4 separate regions of the Homo sapiens genome follow, and regions 1, 2 and 4 are each linked to region 3. The links are contacts of gene promoters, found by promoter capture Hi-C in human tissues and cell types (Jung and others, 2019). All regions are on one chromosome and are shown on one strand. Each heading gives the region's core, a stretch centred on a gene start or on the middle of the fragment in contact. The rest is flanking DNA. Distances are from core to core; before and after follow the strand shown. Region 1 has its middle 98 kb from the start of TESHL. Region 2 has its middle 160 kb from the start of TESHL. Region 3 holds the start of IGFBP5 (insulin like growth factor binding protein 5). Region 4 has its middle 170 kb from the start of DIRC3-AS1.

Region 1 (5,198 bases), core at 54-2,553, 270 kb after region 3:
CTGCCACCATGCCCCACTAATTTTTGTATTTTTAGTAGAGATGGGGTTTCACTGTGTTGGCCAGGCTGATCTCGAACCGCTGACCTCAGGTGATCCACCCACTTGGCCTCCCAAAGTTTTGGGATTACAGGCATGGGCCACTGCGCCCAGCTGATACTTTTTCTTGTGTTCCTCTACACTCAGGGTTGCCGTAGAACTTATTGTCATCCTTAAGAGTCAAAGAGGATGATAAAATAATTATTTTTAATTTGTTTGTTGACCAAAAATTAGTTTTGTTATATTGTGGAGCTTATAAAATAGTTAAAATAGTTCTATTCAAAACTGCTCTCAAAAGTAAAGCTCTTTCTGTTTTTTTTTTTTTTTTTTTTTTTTTTTTTTTTTTTTTTTTTTTTTTTTTTAGACAGAGTCTCACTCTGTCGCCCAGGCTGGAGTGCAATGGTGTGATCTTGGCTCCCTGCAGCCTCCGCCTCCCGGGTTCAAGCAATTCTCCTGCCTCAGCCTCCAGAGTAGCTGGGATTACAGGCATGCACCACCATGCCCAGCTAATTTTTTGTATTTTTAGTAGAGACGGGGTTTCACCATGTTGGTCAGGCTGGTCTTGAACCCCTGACCTCAGGTGATCCACCCACCTCAGCCTTCCAAAGTGCTGGGATTACAGGTGTGAGCTACCATGGCCCGGGCAAAAGTAAAACTCTTTCTAAAAAGCTAAAATAATATATGTGTATATACTCATTAAATCAAAATTATAAAAAGCTTCTTTAAATTTATTATTTATTAAAATTACATGAACAAAGTAATAATTATTCTTGATGCATAGTCATGTATTTTAGTTTCTCTAATGCTTTGTCACTGCAGTTTTTTCTGAAAATTTTTTTTACAATGTTCTCTGAAATATTCCTCTATCTCAATCTCAGGAAGACTAAATACTGCAGATTGAGGAGTGAGTAGAGGCAAGATTATATATATGTGTGTGTATACATACATACACACGTATGTTATATATGTGTGCATGTGTGTGTACACATACATGTACATATATGTACACATATATCTACATATATTTGCAGTTGTAAATGTAGGCTAAGTCTTTTTAAAAGTAAAGAGAGCCAATAGAAATCATTTTTGGAATGCAAAATTGTTCTGGGTATTCACCAATGTAAGGAAAGATATTTTCAGGATTCTTAGAAGTGGAGCTTTGAGAGATTGAAGGGGCCAGGTGTAGGCAGCATGGAGTGCAGGAGAGAGCCCAATCGAATAGAGGGCCCAAGATGAAAGAAATGACATTCCCAGGTTTAGAAAAAGAGGGCTCTGTCCCAGCTTAAAGAATCACCCAAAGATAGAAACAAGTCAGTAGCCCTTAGTGACTAGTACCTATGGAAAGTTTTAGCACCTAATAATCTGTGTGAATGTTAACTACAGTAGTGGAATTTGAGAGTATACTCCTCCTACCTGGGTATGGGCAGAGGAAGAGAGTGGGGAATGAAAAGTCAGTGAAAGAGTGGATGGAGGAGGCTATGGAACCAGGGTTCTGTCCAGCACAGACAGGAATTATCCCTCTTTCTCCCTGTGTGGCAGGGACATCACAGAGAGGACTTGAGGACCTCTTCCAGGCACAGGAGGTAGTGACAAAGCCCTCCTTTCATCAAAGCTCTGTGTTTCTATGGCAGGATTGGGGAGGATGGGAAGGAGGACTCCATTAGGAACAAAGAACATAGTTGCAAACTGTAGCTCCCCATCTTCCATCCTGGAGATGCTTATTAGGGGCCAGAGAAATGCAAGGGGGGTTGGAGAAGCAAGCCACCTAGCCAAAGAGAGGGCAATGGAAAGAATCTAGAAATAGAGTTGGAAGACCCAGTTCCAGCAGGAGGAGCATGAAGGAGACAGATGAGGTGGAGAGTGAAAACCCCTTGGGGGGTTGGCTGGACAGAGGCCAGCAGGGTGGTGGAAAATGGCTGTTGGTGCCAGGAGAAGAATGAACTTGAGTGAGAGGCCATGGGAGGGTGGGGGAAGAGGGCATGGGGCAGGCCCTGCAGGAATCAGAGACATAGTGAGAGCTGATGGTGATTCCAGCTGTCCAACATCCATTCTGCTGATTTGTGCTGGCAGGATGAAGGTCTGGATGGGAGTTGAGAGCAGTAGGCGGTGGAGGAAGCAGGTGCTGCAGGGGGCTGCTGAGGGTCAGGGTGTTGTCTCTTGGGACCAGCATGAGTCACAGCACTGGTTCTCCCACCATGTGCTCCCCAAAAGTGGGATTCTTTTTTTATTCTTATAGTTTGCAGAGTGCTGATTCTAGACCAACTTGTGTTCTGAGAAAGGCTGAGACACCCTAAAAGAGCATGTCAGCTTGGGTCCTGCGGCAGGGCCTCCTTAAGGAGTGCTCCATCTTTGTCCTGGCCCTGGAAAGCTCTAGGCTGGGGCAGGAGAGGGTCAGCGGCTCTGCAGCCAGGGTATGGGGTGGGAGACCTGGGGGCTCCCTTGATACCTGGAGGTCTTTCTGGTCTCCTGAACTTGCTCCTTCTTGCCCATTTTCCATGGTGGTTGCTTGGATGGGAAGGTGTCAGAGAAGGTTCTCTGCAGAACAAGGCAGATCTAGGGAAGCAGGCAGGGGAAACTGGGTCAAGCTATGAGCTGTGTTCTCAAAGCTCTTTCTTCCTCTTCTCCAGCATTTCTAGGAGATGAAAAAGAGGCAAGTAAGGAGGAGAGAGTGCCTTTAAAGTAAAGATGAAGAGGGACTTACTGCCTCTCATCTCCAATCCCTGTAAGCCAGTTGTAAGAGCTATAGTCCTTCATTAACTGAATATCTTTTTTAGGTTCCATTTCACACACCTATTCTAGAGACTGTAACCCACCCCATACTGTCACATCCCAGACTCTAACCACCCATTTTGTCTTATCTAAGTTTGTTGTTCACTTGACATTAGTCCATTTCTTCTCTTGTTCTCTACTCTTAGTAGAGGACAAGCTCTCTTTATGGAGAGAACTCAGTACAAAAATGGGCCTAGTGTTAGAGACAGGACACAAAGCCCCTGGGCTCCCCAGAGGCATAGGGCTGATGGGGCTCAGGGAACGACAAGTGACAGAAGGTCTTGAGAAGAAAGACGAATGTCAGGGCCAGAAAGACCAGTAAAGAGATGGAGTCTTTGAAGTTCTTCCCTTCCTCCTCCCTCCCTCCTTCCTTTCTCTCTCTCTCTCCTTCCTTCCGTCCTACCTTCCCCTTCCCTTCCCTTCCCTTCCTTTCCTTTCCTTTCCCTTCCCTTCCCTTTTCTTTCATTTTCTTTTCTCTTCTCTTTCATAGACTTATTAAGCTATAATTCATATAGCATATAATCTCCCATTTAAAGTGTACAATTCAGTGTTTTTTAAATCATATTCACAGAGTTGTGTATCATTACAAGTTTAGAACATTCTCACTGCCCCAGAAAGGAGCTCTACATGCCTTAGCCAACCCCACTGCAACACTCCCATCGCCCCCTTGCCCCAGCCCTAGTTAACAACCAATATGCTTTCTCTGTGAGATTTTTTAATCCAACAGCCAACTCAACCCAGGATGCTATGTATGCATGGTATGCTATAGAGCCTAGAAACTGCTTTCCTACATTCATTTTAGTTTTGTTCTTTTTATCAACTCATTCAAGTAAGCAGGGCAGATGGTTGGTTGTGTCTTGCATTTTTCAGGTTGGTAAACTGGGGCATCTCTAAATGACAACATTTCAGCTTCAGTAGAGGGATGGAGTGATGTGGCCTTTCACGTCTATGAAAGAAAAGTAAAGAAGAGTTTGTGAGTAACATTTCCTTCAGCACTCCTCAAAATTTAGAAAAATGAAGGCAAGAAACAAGATGAAGAAGAAAGAAGAAAAGGGTGAGACTGCATTTGGAGGGATTGAGGTGAAACACCTGTTAGAATACTCTAATTGAGATGTATGGGCTGCTGAAATGCACTGTCAGAGGTAGCTGCAAGATCTCCCTTTCTTGGAATTAAAAAGAAAACAAAGCACGGTAGAGAGCTCTCTGGCAGGATTTATTTTAAGGAGAAGTAGTATCGAGAGGCAAGCAAATGGATTAGGTGACTCTTCAGTCTCTCTTGGTACTAGGATACCACGTAGGCAGGTGGCAGAGGCATCCCATCCATGCTTAGGTGAAGTTATTCATAGCCCCTATAAAGAGGAGGTCCTATTTATTTTTCATCCTTCTGTCTGTAAAGTGAGAAGCTGTCTGCTTCCTCAGCTGTGGAAAAAGCACTCTATGAGGCATTGTAGAAACTGTAGAGAAAAGGCCAGCATAATTCTTGCCCTTCAATTCAACTTTTATTTGCGTATCAGTGCATTCTGGTTATCTGCTGCTGTGTAATACACTACCACAAAACTCAGTGGCTTAAAACAAATGATCATTGTAGCTCCCAGTTCTGTGTGTTGACTGGGCTCAATGAGGCAGTTCTTGCTTGGGCTCTCTTGCAGTCAGATATTGGCTGGGCTGCAGTTTTTTGAAGGCTCTAGCAAGTTAGTCATCTGCAATGGCACACTCACAAGGCCGACAGTTGCTGCTCAGTGGGGGCTGTAAAGTGGTCCATCCTCATAGAGCTTCCCCACATGGCTTGGGCTTTTCACAGCATGGTGACTATGTTGTCTGGAGGATCCAGGTTGGCTTCACTCACATGCCTAGTACCTTGATGGGAACAGTTAGAGGGCTCATCTGGCCTCCCTTTCCTCTCCATGCAGTCTTGGCACTTCCTCACATGGTCTCTCCAAAATAGTAGTCACAGTGTCAGTTCACAGCTCCAAGAGACCAAGACAAAAGCTATCAGTCCTTTCAAAATTAGGCCTAAACTGGCACAGTGTCACTTCTGCTATACTCTGTGGGTCAAAGCAGTACTGCCCATCTCAGATTTAAAAGGAGAGAAAACAGATCCCACCTTTTAATGGAAATTGTGACAAAGAATTAGTGACCATCTTTAATCTGCTAGGCAGTGGAGGGGAGTCAGTGATGTACTAAAGAGCCATAGGAAAAGAATGCATAGTGCCTCAAAACGAAAATAGACAAAAGGGTTTATTTGACTAAATCTATGAACATAAGAATTGGGCTAGGGTGGTATATATTGAAGTTGAAAAGTCCTGGAATAATTAAAACAACTGAGTTAAATGAGCTACATCTTGGAATAATTCATTCATTAATTCATTTATTTAATAGACATTTTTGGGACC
Region 2 (5,216 bases), core at 2,648-5,147, 330 kb after region 3:
GAAAAAGAGCATAGCATCACAATTTTACAACATAAATCTAAGCAAAAGGAAAGAAAAGACAAACCCAATTGAAGGAGAGCCACATTAAGTAATTGGCTTGAACTCTTCAAAATGCGAAGGTTATAGAAGTCAAAGGAAAGACTGGGTTAATATTCTTCTAACACTGTAAGTCTCAGCCTAAATCCAAAGGCCTGAGAACCAGGAGTGCAGACATCCAAGAGCAGGAGAAGAGAGATGGCCTGGCTCAAGCAGAGAGTCAATTTGCCCTTCCTTCATCTTTTTGTTCTATTCAGGCCCTGGAGGGATTAAATGATACCCAGCCTTCACTGGGGAAGGTAATCTTCATTACTCAGTCTGCTGATTCAAATGTTAATCTCTTGCAGAAACACCCTCACAGTCACACCCAGAAATAATGTTTTAACAGCTACCTGGTCATCCCTTACCTCAGTCAAGTCGATACATAATTAACCATCATAGAGCCAGAACATGCAATAACTTGGAAATAATTCAGTCATTGTGCAAGGAGTTACCTAGACTCTGTTTTAGGCTGGAAGGTGGGAGTGAGATATAAAATGCATACAGTGATCAGGAGGCTACGAGTACTAGAAAGAACTAGAAAGCTTTAACTCTTTCATGGCAATAATAAAATTCAAGATTGTTACTAGGAATAAACTGTACCAGAGTTATGTGAGACCCAAACACAGTCAGAATTAGACTTTGGAGGTATTTGTTGAATTGAACTGAACCCTATAGCTCCCCATTGTTCATAGAGTGCCTACAACCTGTGGCCACTGCACTAGGCATTCAGGATTCAGAATGTTGAGAGGACTATGAGAAGTAACGTGGCTAAGCATGGAACCAGAGAGAGTTGGCCCAACCCTTTCATTTACAAATGAGGAAACTGATGCCCACAGTGAGACTGGCCTGGCCCAACATTACACAACCAGTTTATGGCAAAGCAAAGAGAAACACCTGTTTGGGTAGTGAGGGTTGCCTTTTAGGTGCCCTGACCCCATTTTTACCACCAAGGATTGAGGAGGAATTGCAGTACAAAGAGACAAGAGATAGAAAAAATTTGAGCGTTGCTGCTGCTATAGACCCTCCATCCAGCAAAGCCTTGAGAGAGATATTCTACCACCGGGCTGGGACTGTAAACTAGTTCAACCATTGTGGAAGACAGTGTGGCGATTCCTCAAGGATCTAGAACTAGAAATACCGTTTGACCCAGCCATCCCATTACTGGGTATATACCCAAGGGATTATAAATCATGCTGCTATAAAGACACATGCACACGTATGTTTATTGTGGCACTATTCATAATAGTAGACTTGGAACCAATCCAAATGTCCATCAGTGATAGACTGGATTAAGAAAATGTGGCACATATACACCATGGAATACCATGCAGCCATAAAAAAGGATGAGTTCATGTCCTTTGTAGGGACATGGATGAAGCTGGAAACCATCATTCTGAGCAAACTATTGCAAGGACAGAAAACCAAAGACCACATGTTCCCACTCATAGGTGGGAATTGAACATTGAGAACACCTGGACACAGGGTGGGAAACATCACACACTGGGGTCTGTCGTGGGGTGGGGGAAGGAGTGAGGGATAGCATTAGGAGATACACCTAATGTAAATGACGAGTTAATGGGTGCAGCACACCAACATGGCACATGTGTACATATGTAACAAACCTGCACATGTACCCTAGAACTTAAAGTATAATAATAAAAATAATATATATTCTACCACCGGGCTGCTAACTTGGCAAGGGCTGAAAGAATCCAACCGAGAAGAAAATAGGCCATCATTGTGCCCCTCTCCACATCAAAATGCAATTACTGAGCTTTTCTTAAGAGCTCAGCACTGTGCTAGATGTTGTCCATGTTGATCTTCACAACTGCAGAGGCTGAATTACTATATGTTTATGTGATAACTAAATATTCTATTATGCTTGCATTTGTCTTTGGTGAATATTATTGAAGTCGTTTACTGCTACGGTTTCCTCTGCAGTTTTTCTACTAGTCCATCACACTCTTCTTTTTGGCCCTATTTTTACCCATACTCAGTTAGTTTCTTGTGGCAGGCTACGTGTGTGTGAGGTTCTGTGTGTATGTGTGTTTGCGCAAACATGGTTTTGTGTCAGTATACCTCATAGATATGAAAACAGTTTCTGTTCAAACAGTACCCACACTTAGACTCCATATTAATCTTGGCTCAATTCTGTGAAAACTGGCCCTGAAGTCTGTGACCCCCCTTACTCACCTCTTTACCTCATCTCAACCAAAAGAATCCACTTCAAGAACACCTTCCGCACAAGCTCTTCAAATATCTCAAGTTCTCTTTTCCAGTATGGTGTTGCAGGGTGTAGTGAAAAATGCATGAGTTTGGAGTCAAACAGATTCCCGTTCCATTTCTGGTTGTATCCTATATTACCACTTGGAGTTGTTGGCAGTCTTAGGTGAACACAGGAGGCAATTCTTTTTTTACAGTGACTGACAAAGAGGTGAGCAAGAAATGTGAGTCTCTTATTTATTCCCAGCCCCTCTATCTTAACTTGTTGAAGGTAAAGACCAGTGGATCTGAATTTAGATTATTTACCCTCCCATGTGTGGGGAACACACACACGTGCACACACACACCAGGCTGGAATTTCTTCAGTTTGTTCCTCCGGGTCTACTCTATACTTCATGGAAGCTGATCTTATGACTTACATCAATGGTCTCCCTTGTCCTCTGGCTTCTATTAGATTTGGCAAATGGGGAGCCCTGGCAGATCACTGAAGGGAGGACAGAAGTTGTAGTATTTATTCCTGTGATATTCTCTCCTGGTGTGTCACCTTGGGCTGTCTGCGTCCCTTGACAGAAGGTCACCCTCTTGTCAGGCATCACTTTTCTCACAGTTCTCTCTGTCTCTGGGTTCCAACACCACTCCCTCTTCTTGACCCTTAACGCCTAGGGGTGATTATAGCTCCAGCTGTTATTAGCACGGAGGACTGCACGATCCCTTATGATTTCACTACACCCAGTAAATAGAACCTTTATTAAGCTTTTCCCAAATAACCCAATTTCAGTGCACTGTCTGTTTTCTGCTTGGACTTTCACTCACGTATGTGCATGCACACACACACACACATACACACACGCATGCACACTCATACCCACGTACTCTCTATATACGTGTACATTGAGTGCTATGGAATTTTTAGGGTTCTTTGAGGACAACTTCCTGGAAGAAGAATAATGGGAGATGTGCTCAGAGGCTGGTGAGCGTTTAATTGACCTGGTTGTGAGCACAATGGGAATGCTTTTCTGAACCTTCCATTTGCCTCCAATTTAGAATAACTGCTTAGTCAGCAACATGTCTCCAATTAACATGACAGATTTTTTGGACCACAGATCTCTTTGGGAATCTTATGTAAGCTGTGAAACTTCTCCCTTAAAAAACCTACATATTTAATTCTGTCTGTAATTTTAGGACTTCACATATCCCCAAAGACCATTCATGATCCACCAGGGTTAAAGACTTGTTTTAAGTAAAGAAAATATTCACAGCCTCTGGAGTAGTAGACATCTCCAGAGAAAGTCTGGCATTCTTTGGTAACTCATGGCATTTATTACATTAGCTTTGGATGGAACAACCCCCAACCCCCAAGTCTGAGCATGTGGTTTGATGCTGCTTCCTTTCCATTTTCACTCTGCTCTCTTGGATTCTATGTAGCAAAAAGGTACCTTTTCTAGGGTCACATGTCCACTTCTCAAACTCTGTCTTGCACTGGGGATTTGAGGGTGGACTATCAGAGCATAATGGAAGAGGCAGGAAAGGATAGCACTAATTAGAGAACTTGATAGGCCTTTTGCTACTGATAAAGATTCTGTCCTGTATCATCCATGAGGTTTGGATTTGCACTTCTAAAAAATAGCTGTGTGTTTTTGACAATAGCCACTCCCTTTTTGCTCCTTTCTGGTCTCTTTCCTAAATGACTTTCCAGGATAGTATAAAATAAGCAATCTATTTAGAGGAACAAAACAAAGAACTACACCATTAGCATTAAAATATTTCTAGGGTAGTTTAGGTAACATAGAACTTTGTAGCTCAGCAGTCTTGGAATCACTAGACTCTAAGCCCCATGTAGTCAGAGACTGCCTGCTTTTATAATTCATCCCCAACAGCAGGCTATTGCATAACACATTGTTACCACCCACACCATTTTGTTGAGTAAATGAATGCATGCATGAACGAATCAGAGGATTCTGTTGTCTAAATAAACTTTGGAGGTGACTTAGTCTTCTCTTCCCTCTGATGCTTAGATCTTCTTTATCTCTCAGTTCAACATATATTGCTCAAATGGTTCCTAGGTGCAAGGGATCTGGAAGTTATTAAAATGAAATAGATTTTGGACCATGACCTTGACAAATTATGATCTACTAGGAGAGATAATATGGAAATCAGTATAATACTACAGAGACAGTAAAAAGGAAAAAGAAATGTTTGCACTTAATAATTATTCCACCATTGTTCCAAAAGTTTCAATTATAGGGAACTAAGTTCCACTACTAATAAAAGTCAATACGCATTGTATGCTTACTGCATGCTAAATATATTATGTCATTATAATATTTATGTTCAGGTGTATACTATGATTGTATGTATTTTACGACAAGGAAATTGAGGCTCAGAGAGGTTAAAGAACTTGCTCAAGGTGACAGAGCCAGTAGGTGGTAGAACAAAGACTCCTACATTCTGACCTAGTCCATATGTAAGCAGATTTATTGCTAGAAATATCTTGATGTTGCATTGAAATCTGCCTCTCCTTATTTTCCATTTGGAACTAATTCCACTCTCCCGAGCCAGAAAAACCAAGCCTCTCATTACTTGAAAAACCAATTAATGAGTTAAATTACATCAAGTTAGTTTAACAGTCAGCAATTCCCTGTTGTAATCATAGTTAGGCTGCTACCATTTTTGTCCCAATCATTGGCCCACACTGAATTTTGTGTCTAATTCATTGCTTTCTGTCTCCTTAATTTCATCCTCTGCCCCCAGAGATACTATGCTGAGTATTGATGCTGCAGCAACATATTAATTTTTATGTTTTCTGACTCATTTACCCCAAAGCCATAGTGCATCAAATGCTTTTGGGTTTGTGACCATTTTATCTTTGGTTTCAGTCACTGTTTATCTGGTCGCATCTTTGTTCATTTAACAAA
Region 3 (5,473 bases), core at 1,216-3,715:
CCCCTTTTGGAGAGAATCAATAGCCAGTTTGACGTCTTAGAACCCAGACTTTTATGTAGTTTATTTAACTTTTTTTTTTTTTAACTAAAGATCAGGTAACTCTTTCCAAAAAGAAACTCAGTCTAAGGGGGTAGAACTGTTCTGATTGAACAAGTAGCTGTGTCAATCATTTCAACCCTAGACTCCTGGCGCCGAGAATTTGGGGGCGGCGCAACCCGGGGGCGGGGCAAGCGGAGGCGAGGCTCCCAGTGCGTGGCTTTTCTGTCTCCGCCCCCTGAATTTTGCATTCTGCGTTTCCAGGGCCCCTCATGCACTTAATCCACACCCACTTGTGATCTGGTTTAAGAGATTGGGGAGGGCGGGGTGGGGGGATTGCGGAGGGAGGAATTGCGGGGCGGGGGTGGAGGTGGTGGTGGTGCCAGGAATCTGCATAGGCGAGGAAGTTGAAAGCTCTGAATCTCACATCCCCTTTTGCCTCCCAGCCCTATGTCCACCTTTCATCCTAGGTAAAATCTGAATTGGAGAGGGGGAAAAGGAATTAGATTCAGAAACGAACACCAGGCACAGAATACCAAACCCTTCCTTTCTACTCTTCCCCACCCCCACCCCGCACCCCCGCACTCCTAAAGTATTTTTTTCCCTTCCTGGGATAAAATAAAAGTCATTTTGCAGTTAAATATGTTTTACCATCTACCACAGGCAATCATCTTCAATAAAAAGCAATGGTTATGCACATGGGAGGGGCTTCAGGGCTCCCACCCGAAAGGCATTAGCTACCAAGGATGTGGGGTGTTTGTGGTGTGTGTGTAGGGGTGGAGGGATAGAAACGTCTGGAGGCACGGGGGTGGAGGGGCCAAGAGGGACAAAGGTGGAATTAGCTCAGAAGATAGGTAATGCCTCTCTCTCCAGGCCGCAATTAAAATAATATTTTAACAAAAGAGATTTTTTTTCCAAGTTCAGAAAAAAACCTATGCGGGGCGCGAGGGGGGTGGAGGAGGGAGTTGATAATGTAACATACACTCTTTCAGACTGTAGATAGGGTACCAGGGGATTTGGACCTTGTGACCGAATAAGAGCTCAGAATCAGTATTCGGACAGAGTAGGGGGAGGGGGCGGGCAACGTGTGGGTAGGAGGAAGGAGAAAGAGCGAAAGCTGGGATAGACTCGGCTAGACAGTTCCCCCGGGTAGCAGGATCCTCCAGGGCTCCAATTCCGGGGTGCAAGGACCCTCCCCGACTACTCCCGAGCTGCACCCCAGCTCGAAGCCACTTGCTGCGCAAAGCGCGCGGGCCCAGCCGGTCTCGTGTCCCCCGCCCGTGCGCCGCGTAACTGACTGGCACACTGAGCGCGCTCACCGATCTTGACTTGCTCGCGGTAGCTCTTTTCGTTGAGGCAAACCCCGCGGCCGTGCAGCAGGGCGTGCAGCGGCTTCTCCTCGTCCTGCCGGGGGAGGCAGCGCAGCCCCTGGGCGCAGCGCTCGGTGTAGACGCCGCACGACTGCCCCTCGGCCAGGGCGCAGGTCATGCAGCAGCCGCAGCCCGGCTCCTTGACCAGCTCGCAGCCCAGGGGGCTGGGGGGGCACATGGAGAGGGCTTTCTCGTCGCAGGGCTCGCAGTGCACGAAGGAGCCCAGGCTCTGGGCCGGCCCCGCATAGGCGGCCAGCAGCAGGAGGACCGCGGTGAGCAACACCATCTTCTCTTAGTCGCCCCCTTTACCTCGGGGTGGGGCAGGAGAGCGAGAGTGCAGGGATAAAGGGGCCAAGAGGGCCCCCGGAGATTTTTTTGTTTTTGTTTTTGTTTTAAAATTTCTGGCAGGTAGAGCAGGTGCCCTCCCCCAGACACTTGCAAAAATGTAGAGAGAGGTGGAGGGCTGGGGTGCCTGCGAGCAGGTCCCAGTTGCAAGAATTAAAGCCTTGCAACAGGTTGGGGGAAGCAGGGCAGCGCCAGGTGCACGCAGTGAGCGGAGGCCGGAGAAACCCTCAAGCCTGAGCGGGTCAGAATTATAGGGGAAAAAAAGCCACAAAATTGTTCACCCCCAAGCAACCACCGAAATAATGAGATCGGATGCAGTGGAGATGGCGTTGGGGGTGGGAGAGAAAAATGGATTTATCTTTAAAATTTTTGCTTAAAATCTAAAATACACCCCGCTTTCTAACCCTCAGCTGCCAGCGGTGCGCGGCGCCGCAGAACAGGTAAGAGGCGTTGGCTGCAGCCGAGAGGGTGGGAGAAAATGTTGAAATCAAGAAATTAAAAAACAAAAACAAAAACAAAAAAACCCCAAACCCTAACACCTCTTTTCTCCCACTTTGCCACCTCCTCTTCGAAATTCGCAGGTTCTACGCGAAGTCCGGAGAAGGGTGAAAACGGAGGAGGGGTAATGAAAAGGAGCAAAAAAGGGAAAAAGCCCACACTGCTTTGCAGCTCTTTCCTAGCTCTTTTCCCCTGCAGAAGTTTCCAAAGAGACTACGGGGCTCCGGGAGAGCAGGCGCTTTTAAATAGCCGGCCCCTGGCTGCCAGCCAGTTTGTAGCTGCAATTTGAGCTTCCCAACACCCAACTCAGGCAAGGATGCCAAGGAGCTTTGCAGTACAAACTCACACGGGGTGGGGGTGGGGAGAGGCCTTCTAGACACAAGGGGGCTCCCCTTCGCTCCCTGAACAGCGCCCTCCTCCCCTCTGAACAGCGCCCTCCTCCCCCCGGAATGTAAGAAAGGGGCAAGGGGGACAGGCTGGGGCTACCGAGAATGGGGAGGAGGTGGAGGGGCCAGTGGAAGACAGAGTTCTTCGGAGCAGGGTGAACACAATGAGGAGAGTAACTTCGTCTCCCCTTCCCTCCTATCCTTTAAGTAGTCAAGGCACAGGCTGAAGGGAGACGTATTTTCTTATTAGCCAACTGGATATACCGTGCCCAAGAAATCTTCCTAAGCTTCTGCAATTGACTGTATGCTGGTGTCTGTTTCCATGTGGGGTGTGTGTGTGTGTGTGTTTGGGGGACAGGTAGTGTAGAATGGCCAGTGATGTCTGGTGAGCTAAATTTAAAAAAGAAGAAAAAATTGAATTTCTCCCCTAAAAGTCTGGAGAAGAGGATTTAATCAGGGGGTTTCAGTACTCATGATGAAGAGGTGACCAGTTGCCTTCAGCTGCGTTGGCCAGGGAGGTTCTCTCTCTCTTTCTCTCTCTCTGTGTGTGTGTGTGTATGTGTGTGTGTTGTGTATCTGCAGGAATGGACATTCATACAACAGCATTATTGAGAGCAGTGAGTTGCAGAGATGGACACTTTGGAGGAAATGCTAAGTCTGAAAACCTTGCATGGTGGCCTAAAGTGTCCTTGTGTGTGGGGTTCTTAGAGGGAAGAAAGGTGGATTGGAGTGACACTTCCCTCTCTGTCACTTTGCAGAGGTATTTCTATTGGGCAGGGCCACATCCCTGGAGGGAGTGGGTGGCAGAGTAGCTGGAGGAGACCTTGTGATAGGTTGACAGGTTAGTTGGTGCTTATAGGCACATCCCAGGAATATGAGCTGACAGGGCCACAGGACCTGCTTGGAAGAGGTCCTGACCAGGAACCGAATCATGCCACTAGAACCTCTTTAATAAAATGAAAGAAAACTAAGGCCTTGAAATAGGAAGGTGGTGGTTTTAGCTTTTTCTGAAATTGACCTGAGTGAGCCATGAGCCTCACAGGCAAGTCAGAGAGAAATGACCAATGTCACTGCCCCTGCTGGGTGGACTTGGTGTGGGCTGTTACACCTTTTACATTGTGCTTCCTCCCTTGAGAAGTATTCTAACTTTCCTTTGGAGAAGGGGCTGCATTTCATGAAGTTTGCCACTAGACTGCACCCTTATCTATGATAAGAATTCTTTCTGGAGGACTGCTTTCAAGAAAATATTTTTTCTTGCTCGTTCAGTTCAGGAGCATCTCACTTTATGCCGTTAACACCCCCAGATCCTGATCTCTCTTCTCACTTATCTATTTGCCGAAAGGCACATTTTAAAACAAGGTTAACGTCTAAAGTTATGTCTTTGCCTGTATTGCCAAAGGGGGTTTAGCCACGTGGTGGCTGGGAGAGGGAGGAGCATTGTGTGTAATGATTAAAACAAAAAATAGCAGCAAGGCTCATCTTAATTTCTTCTTTTCTCAGTCTGAGGGCTTGGTAAGGTAGGAACAAATCAATATTCAAAACTTTGGTGGAAATATTTTAGAAGTGAGGGAAATCATGTGTTATTTTGTCATTTGTGTCAAGTTCAGACTACAAGAGTGGCAGCAGAATGTGTGCAGTATGTTCTCTTCCCTGCTCCTATTTCTTTCTGCACACCCTTAGCAGCTCAGCCTGCCTCAGGCACACTGGTAGCTTTTAAGATGATTGGGGGAAATTGTGGTACTCCTTCCAAAGAAACATGAGTTGCCTCGTTCCAGTCACCCTGTATTCTGAGAGAGATGGCCTCTAGTGACACCTCTTTTTGTGTAGCCGACTTCCAATGGCTGGATAATACAATATGTGAAGACAGGTAAAAGGAGGGGGGATCATTCACAGAAAAGATAAAAAGGGTAGAGAGAAGGGGGGAGGAGAATGTGGTGGGAGCCGGACCCTGGGGCAGAGCAGTACAGGGGCCATGGAGAGAGGTTACTCTGCAAGACTGTAAATGTTAAGCAGCTATTCTTTTTTTTTTTTTTTAATACTTTAAGTTCTAGGGTACATGTGCACAATGTGCAGGTTTGTTACATATGTATACATGTGCTGTGTTGGTGTGCTAAGCAGCCATTCTTTATCTCCACTTAGAAATGGGCTTAGGTTATAAGGGATTCAGACACTGGAGCTGTTGTCCAAGAGACCCTGGGATAGGCTTCCCGAGAGGGCATGAGAGAAAGAAGAATTCTCAGTAGCCTGGGATTGTCTATAGTAATTTCATCCAAAGATGGAGGACTGGCCAGATGGGTGTTGTTTCTGAGTCCATAATTAACATATGACAATGGAGTGGGAAGGTGTTGGTGTTGTTACTGCAGGATACGGGATTATGGAGGATGCCTATGAGCCTTACTTGATTCCATTTTCCCCTTCCCTCCATTCTGGAGGTCTAGATCTGTTCACAATCACCTTTAGAAAATTGCTTGTAGAAAAAAAAAATAGTTTGCATCAACCAGGGTAATTGGGAGGGGATCATTAATTCCTGCCAGATACAAATGTTCCCTTCCTAGAGACCCCCCTGTGCTGCCGGCTTGCTTTCGCTGTCATGGGCTTCCCAACTCTGGCATAGACTAGCTTCTATACCTGTCAACTGCATCTTTTTCGGGGAAGTAGTATTTAAATATCAACCACTTGTGTCCCGTTTCCCCGGAGATCACTCCTCCTCTTTCCTTTAAAAGATTAACTGCTTATCAAAGCCAGCTTTCAAGAAATGCAGCGGAGTGAAAGATTTATGATCTTTTATCTGGATAACTTTTCAAAGGATAGATAGTGTTTTTATTTTATAAAGCTTCG
Region 4 (5,365 bases), core at 2,786-5,285, 420 kb after region 3:
TGATTCCAGGGGAGTAGATGAATTTACAGACCAATAAAGTTAGATGTTGCCAGTTGCTCAAAATTCCCTCTTCCCTTCCTTGAGGATAGCAGAGACTGCATTTCTCTTCATTTAGCTACAAAGCAAAGGATAAAACAAAGGTTAGGTTATGAATCCATGATTCCTTAAAGCTTATTTCACACCTGTGTATTCAGTAAAGCTGGTGTCCGTGAAATATGTCCAATACATACCATCCAGAGGCACAGTGCTCATTCCTATATTCTACCCCTTCAGAACAGACTTTCCTAGCCTCCTTGTGAGAGCTCTCGTCACCCTGATCAGCAGTTTCCAAATAAAATGAAATGAAGTTTCTGTTGCTGACTCCATATAGTAAAACATGGGTTTGATGAAGAGGGTCCTCGGCCTCGCCCTAGTGGAGAAGGTGTCCACAGTCTTAAGGGCTCACAGGGAATCAAGGGACTGCAGCTGGCCTGGCTCAGGTAGGCAGGTTTCAAAGGGCACAAAGATGGTGTTGAATAGTCTCTGTGGTGCCTGGCACCCTCTCTCCATGACACAGGATGGTCTTTCTGCAATATCCAAGTAAACTATGCTCCTCGTGATCAAGCATGGTTCCAAATGGAAGTTTCCACTGGCTGCAAATCTGGACTCATTACTCTGTTTTGTGGGTTTCACCCTCCACGTACAGGCTCATGTATGAAAGAAATATTGCATCTCTAGTTTCCACAAATTAAACCAGCTTCAATTCTGATCCTGAGATGCCAGGATATCTAATCTTATTGTTTACCGCCAACCTGCACTCTAGGACTGAGCTAAATTTTCAGAGTCTCACAGACGACCAGCTGCTTAAAGAGGTGCCCGTGGGCCTTGGTGGGCTGCCCATCCTCTCATGGCAGAGGTGGTCCCTTCAGCCTCTCCTCTCTGCTTTTAGGACCCCCAGATCCCACTCTTCCCCTACCCTCCTGCCCTAGAGAATACCACTTCAGGCAACACAATCCCTCCGCCTCTCTCCACGTTTCTGCATATGACCTTACCTACTCTATCCTCAAACCACTTCGGTTGGTTTAACTTCCAGAAACAAGAGCATGGACATTCTGCCAGGAAATTCTCCTAAAATAGCCACACATTATATACCTCAATGTTTGGAGGATAAACAAGCAAGCATGGGGAAGAAAAAAAACAAATCAAAAACAAAGAACTGCCCTAAACCAAAATGATCAGAGATTGGGACTCAGCATAATCTCTTCATTCCCCTCCTTCCCTCGTCCCATCCATCCTTCCTTTTTTTCTGTTTTCCTGAGGCCCCTCTGGACTTCCTGACTACCCCCATCTGATATTGTCTTGGTCCCAATAGCATAGCCTGTTAGGGGTTTTTAGCACAGCTCTGGATCCTGTGCAGGGCTCTTGCTTCAGTCAGACAGCCTGACCCCCAGGCCAATTCAGGGGCTGAATTTGTCTCCCCCAGTGTCTGTTTCTTTGTTTATTCCATCATCAACACATCCAGATGGCCTGTACTCTCCAGGCCACAAGCCATCCTGCTTACCTCCCTCCCTAACATTCTTTGCTGGACTCCTTAAGGCATTTGAGTTAAAATCTCTAGCTCAGATCCTTCCATTGGCAGAAGGACAACCAGGTGAGGCAGTGAGCTCCCTGTGATTGGGATTAGACAGCCATCTTCCCAGGACCCAACAGAGGCTATTCTTATTCCTAATTGGACACAAAACTGGATTGGGAAGCTTCTAAATCCCCCAGTCTCTGAACTTGTAATAATCATTCAGAGACTGCCTGGGGTCAAATCCTGGTTCTATGACTTATTAGCTGAGTGACCTCATGCAAGTTACATAGCTTCTTTGAGACACCTTCTTCATCTGTAAAGTAGGGCTATTAATCATTCCCACCATAGGAGTTACTGGGGGATTTGATGGGATATTACGTGTGAAGCACTCAGAACAGCTCTCAGTGTTCTGGCATACAATAATTTCTCAGTGAATGTTAATTCTATCTACCCTTGTCTTTCCTTTCCTAATTTGCTGAGCAGGGGCTAGCCCATCAGCAGTACAGGTTTTATGGGGAATTTCAGGGTTCATAAAACACAGACTGGCCCGAGTGTCTTGCTGAGGATGGACATTCCAGAAGGTTTTTTCCTCCCAGCCTATGCGCCATTCACTCTTCATCACATTCACCTGCAGTCTTCTGTGGTGCTTCTCCCGGGAGGGTGCCAGCATCAGCCCCATTTTCTGGGAGATTTCCACAAGCAGCAGGGGAAGAAGGGTTTGTATTGGTTTCCAAGGGCTGCCCCAGATTTAGACTGGGAGGTCTAAATAAAACAGAAATGTATTCATTCACAGTTCTGAACTCTGGGAATTCAAAATCAAGGTGTTGTCAGGGCCATGCTCTCTCTCAACACTCTAGGGGAGGATCCTGCCTTGTCTCTTCCTAGGGTTGTGGGAAATCCTTGGCATTCCTTGGCTGAATAGTGTTAGTTACTATTTTTTCTTTGATTCTCACCTCTTTGTGGACAACAGTGAAAATTAGAATCTTCCAAGTTTGTTTAGGTTGGAATAATGCTCTGTGTTATCCCAATACCAATTGTGCTTTTGCTCAACAGAAAGGGGGCTAAAAGAATTGTAGGTTTTATGTTCTAGGGAACTGATGATGGAATTGGCATGAAGTGGCTGCAAAACTGACCTCTTGCTTTGGGGATGGCTGCCTTATTACCAAGTGTGGTGGATTCTCCCAAATTACTTTTCAGTGTAATCTGTTCCTTTGCTCACTGCATGGCGTCACCTGACCACTGAGATTGGCCACATGACTTCCTGTCTTTGTATCTTCATGTTTTTTCCTCTTGCCTCTCCCAGTTAGGTATTCATCTTACTCTAATGCTGCATTGTAGTCACTGCAAGCTGAAGGCCATGGCAGCTTCTCTTTAATCTACCAGGAGTGTGGTGTTCACTGGATGCAACAGTGGCCAGATGTTCAAAATCTGATGAGAAAAGGTATGAACTAACTACCACTGTCCAACTGGCCAAGTGAGAATGGCTTTCAATTCCCCCAAGGCTTTCCGTTCAGGGATTCTGACAGAGAGCTCACCACCAATAGGATGCAGGAAGGCTGATAGACAAATGGCCGTCAGCCACAGAAGTGGAGAGGGACAGGAGAAACACCGCATTGATTCTGGCAGTCACTGTGTCTTCCTAGCCTAAGCTTCAGTTTCCTCTCCTTTTATCCTGCTGGATATTTCAGCAGGACATTTGGAGTTCCAGTCCACTACATTCTTCTGCTTCTTTTTTCTATGATGTTTTTTCTTAACCTTGTACTCCTTTTTAGAATGTGTATTTTTTTTTCAACAGTAAGAATTATCAGGCTTCGTCCACACATATGAGTGGTATTTATGTGTGACTGTTTCCCTTAAACTAACTCTTTTCTCTTTTCTCATTAACATTCTGCCTGCCAGTTTAGGATGCTTTCCTTTCGACAGTCTCGTCGAGCTGGGTGGCTTGTCCTTAGCTTTAACCTGGTGGCATCAGCTGAAGATTGTCCTTGTCTGATCTTTCTGAATATTTTCGGTCTAACCAATCATATTAGGTACGGAGTTATAATCCCTCATCCCCATCGTCAACCCTCTGCTTTGAAGGGAAAGCCCTTGGCATTAATCCTTCAATTATAAGAAAAAAGTTCCTCCCTCTCCACCATTTACTCAGTAGGACTGAGGGGACCTGTGGGCTACATGGCCCAGGAAGCATCTGTGCTATGAAGTCCGGGCTAGGACAGAGTGAGTCTCTTCACCTCCATGTCAACCAGCTCTCTTGGCGCATAGCTTGTCCAGAGGGTGACAGCTGCTGGTACTGCTGTCATTGCCAGCAGCCTGGGCCCTGCTGCCACCACGGCACATAAGGATGCTCCATGTCAGCCTGCCAGCATCTTCTCATTGGGCTGGTTCAAAGTGATGAGTAAGCTACAATGTGACAACCTTTTCCTCTTTTTACTACCCTTTTATCACACTGCTGCTTCCTCTACTTTTTGCCAATGAACTATTTAGGCTGAATTAAGGCTCATTTTTATTCTTCCTTCATCCATGACAAGTTCTGCTATATCTGGATTGAAAATGCAGTACATTACTGGTTAGAGAAGATAGGACTGAATGTATTTTATGATCAATTGCACTCTGGGGAACCATCAGAAATATTTCTCTGTCCTTCCGCCTGGCAGATTAGGAGTTATGATACAGTGCCCCCTAAAAGAGTGTGCATGATATTACCCAGGATGCAGGCGAAAGACAGAAACGTGGCAGGCACAGAGGTCCAGAGAGGAGAAACTGGTTGAATTACAAAACTTGTAAGACCTGTAAAACCTCTACGTTGTCTGTAATCACTCTCACAGCTCTTTAATTCCTCAAATCTTTAAGGAAGGTCATTCTAACTCACGTAGGTTGATGGCCTCTTGGTGTTTCTGACACCTTGGATTCATCTCAGCTGGGATGAGATTCACAGTCAAGTGCTGATTGACTCTTTGGGAAGCTGTGTGACAATTCTACTGGTGGTACTTCCTGGTTTTCTTTTAGTACCATTTGTGCATGTGGAAATTGGGAGACCAGGTACTTCTGCCACAACTCCACACCCCTCACCACAGCCAGCCTGGCTTCTGTGCTTTCCAGCTGGGGTGAATATACTGCCTCAACTTGTTCTTCAGTAGAAAGCCTGTGCTCACCAGAGTCCAAAGACATGTGCCTGCATACATCCAGGGGCAGATGCACAGAAACAAGCATAATTGCCCATTGGTGGTCTCAGCTGGGTCTCACCCTCACTTTTGAATCAACAGAGTTATTATATAATTCCATGTCTCTATTTCTACTTCACTGCCTGGAAACCAACTGATACCTACGCTGATTGGATTCCCTTGCTTATGGAGAGGGGAGTCAGGCAGAAGGGATTTCAGAATTCTCACCCAACTCTATGAGCAATTCCCAGTCATCCTAGCCCTCCAGCTGCAGGTCTCTTGGCTTCCTCTAATTACCCGAAGCATTGTGTCTACTCTCTTGATTATCTTATATTATACTCAATTTTGAGGTCTGCCAGAGAAAATTATGGAGTAAGGGGGCTTGATGAAGTCTGGATATGAAAAATTTTAAAATTAGAAAGCTGCAATTTGGGGGGTTGTAAGCAGAGTTTGGATTCTAGAATGGATAATGGAATTTGGTTGTGGGTCCATAATGCCTTTCCTCATTTGTTTTAGCAGAAACACATTTTGTAAGACTTAATTTGTCAGACATTGGGAGAGTACCTACCTCCTATTCCAGAATAGCTACCTCCTAAGCCAGCAAAGTGTCACAATGCTGATGCTTCCAACCAATGTTAAAAATTTTTGTTCA

What was found. The method cuts DNA at HindIII sites, captures the fragments that hold promoters and counts their contacts. A contact is called where the count stands out against the background at its distance.
Region 1: a contact is called between a fragment that was not itself captured here and the fragment with the promoter of IGFBP5 in region 3, in 2 of the 25 tissues and cell types used here (IMR-90 fibroblasts and bladder).
Region 2: a contact is called between a fragment that was not itself captured here and the fragment with the promoter of IGFBP5 in region 3, in 5 of the 25 tissues and cell types used here (bladder, heart left ventricle, heart right ventricle and 2 more).
Region 4: a contact is called between a fragment that was not itself captured here and the fragment with the promoter of IGFBP5 in region 3, in 1 of the 25 tissues and cell types used here (H1 embryonic stem cells).

What each region holds. Positions count from the first base shown.
Region 1 is chr2:216,966,102-216,971,299 of GRCh38, forward strand. No RefSeq gene overlaps it. Among named protein-coding and RNA genes, the nearest start is that of TESHL, 98 kb to the left of the region's middle. The HindIII fragment of the contact is 8,095 bases long and covers 1-5,198 here.
Region 2 is chr2:217,023,413-217,028,628 of GRCh38, forward strand. No RefSeq gene overlaps it. Among named protein-coding and RNA genes, the nearest start is that of TESHL, 160 kb to the left of the region's middle. The HindIII fragment of the contact is 7,497 bases long and covers 150-5,216 here.
Region 3 is chr2:216,693,084-216,698,556 of GRCh38, forward strand. It overlaps IGFBP5 (insulin like growth factor binding protein 5), which reads right to left and starts at 2,466. Exons shown (of 4, transcript NM_000599.4): 1 at 1,356-2,466. The coding sequence starts at 1,692. IGFBP-AS1 (IGFBP5 antisense RNA 1) reads left to right here and starts at 1,363. Exons shown (of 6, transcript NR_187138.1): 1 at 1,363-1,678. The HindIII fragment of the contact is 12,405 bases long and covers 1-4,195 here.
Region 4 is chr2:217,114,925-217,120,289 of GRCh38, forward strand. No RefSeq gene overlaps it. Among named protein-coding and RNA genes, the nearest start is that of DIRC3-AS1, 170 kb to the right of the region's middle. The HindIII fragment of the contact is 6,169 bases long and covers 952-5,365 here.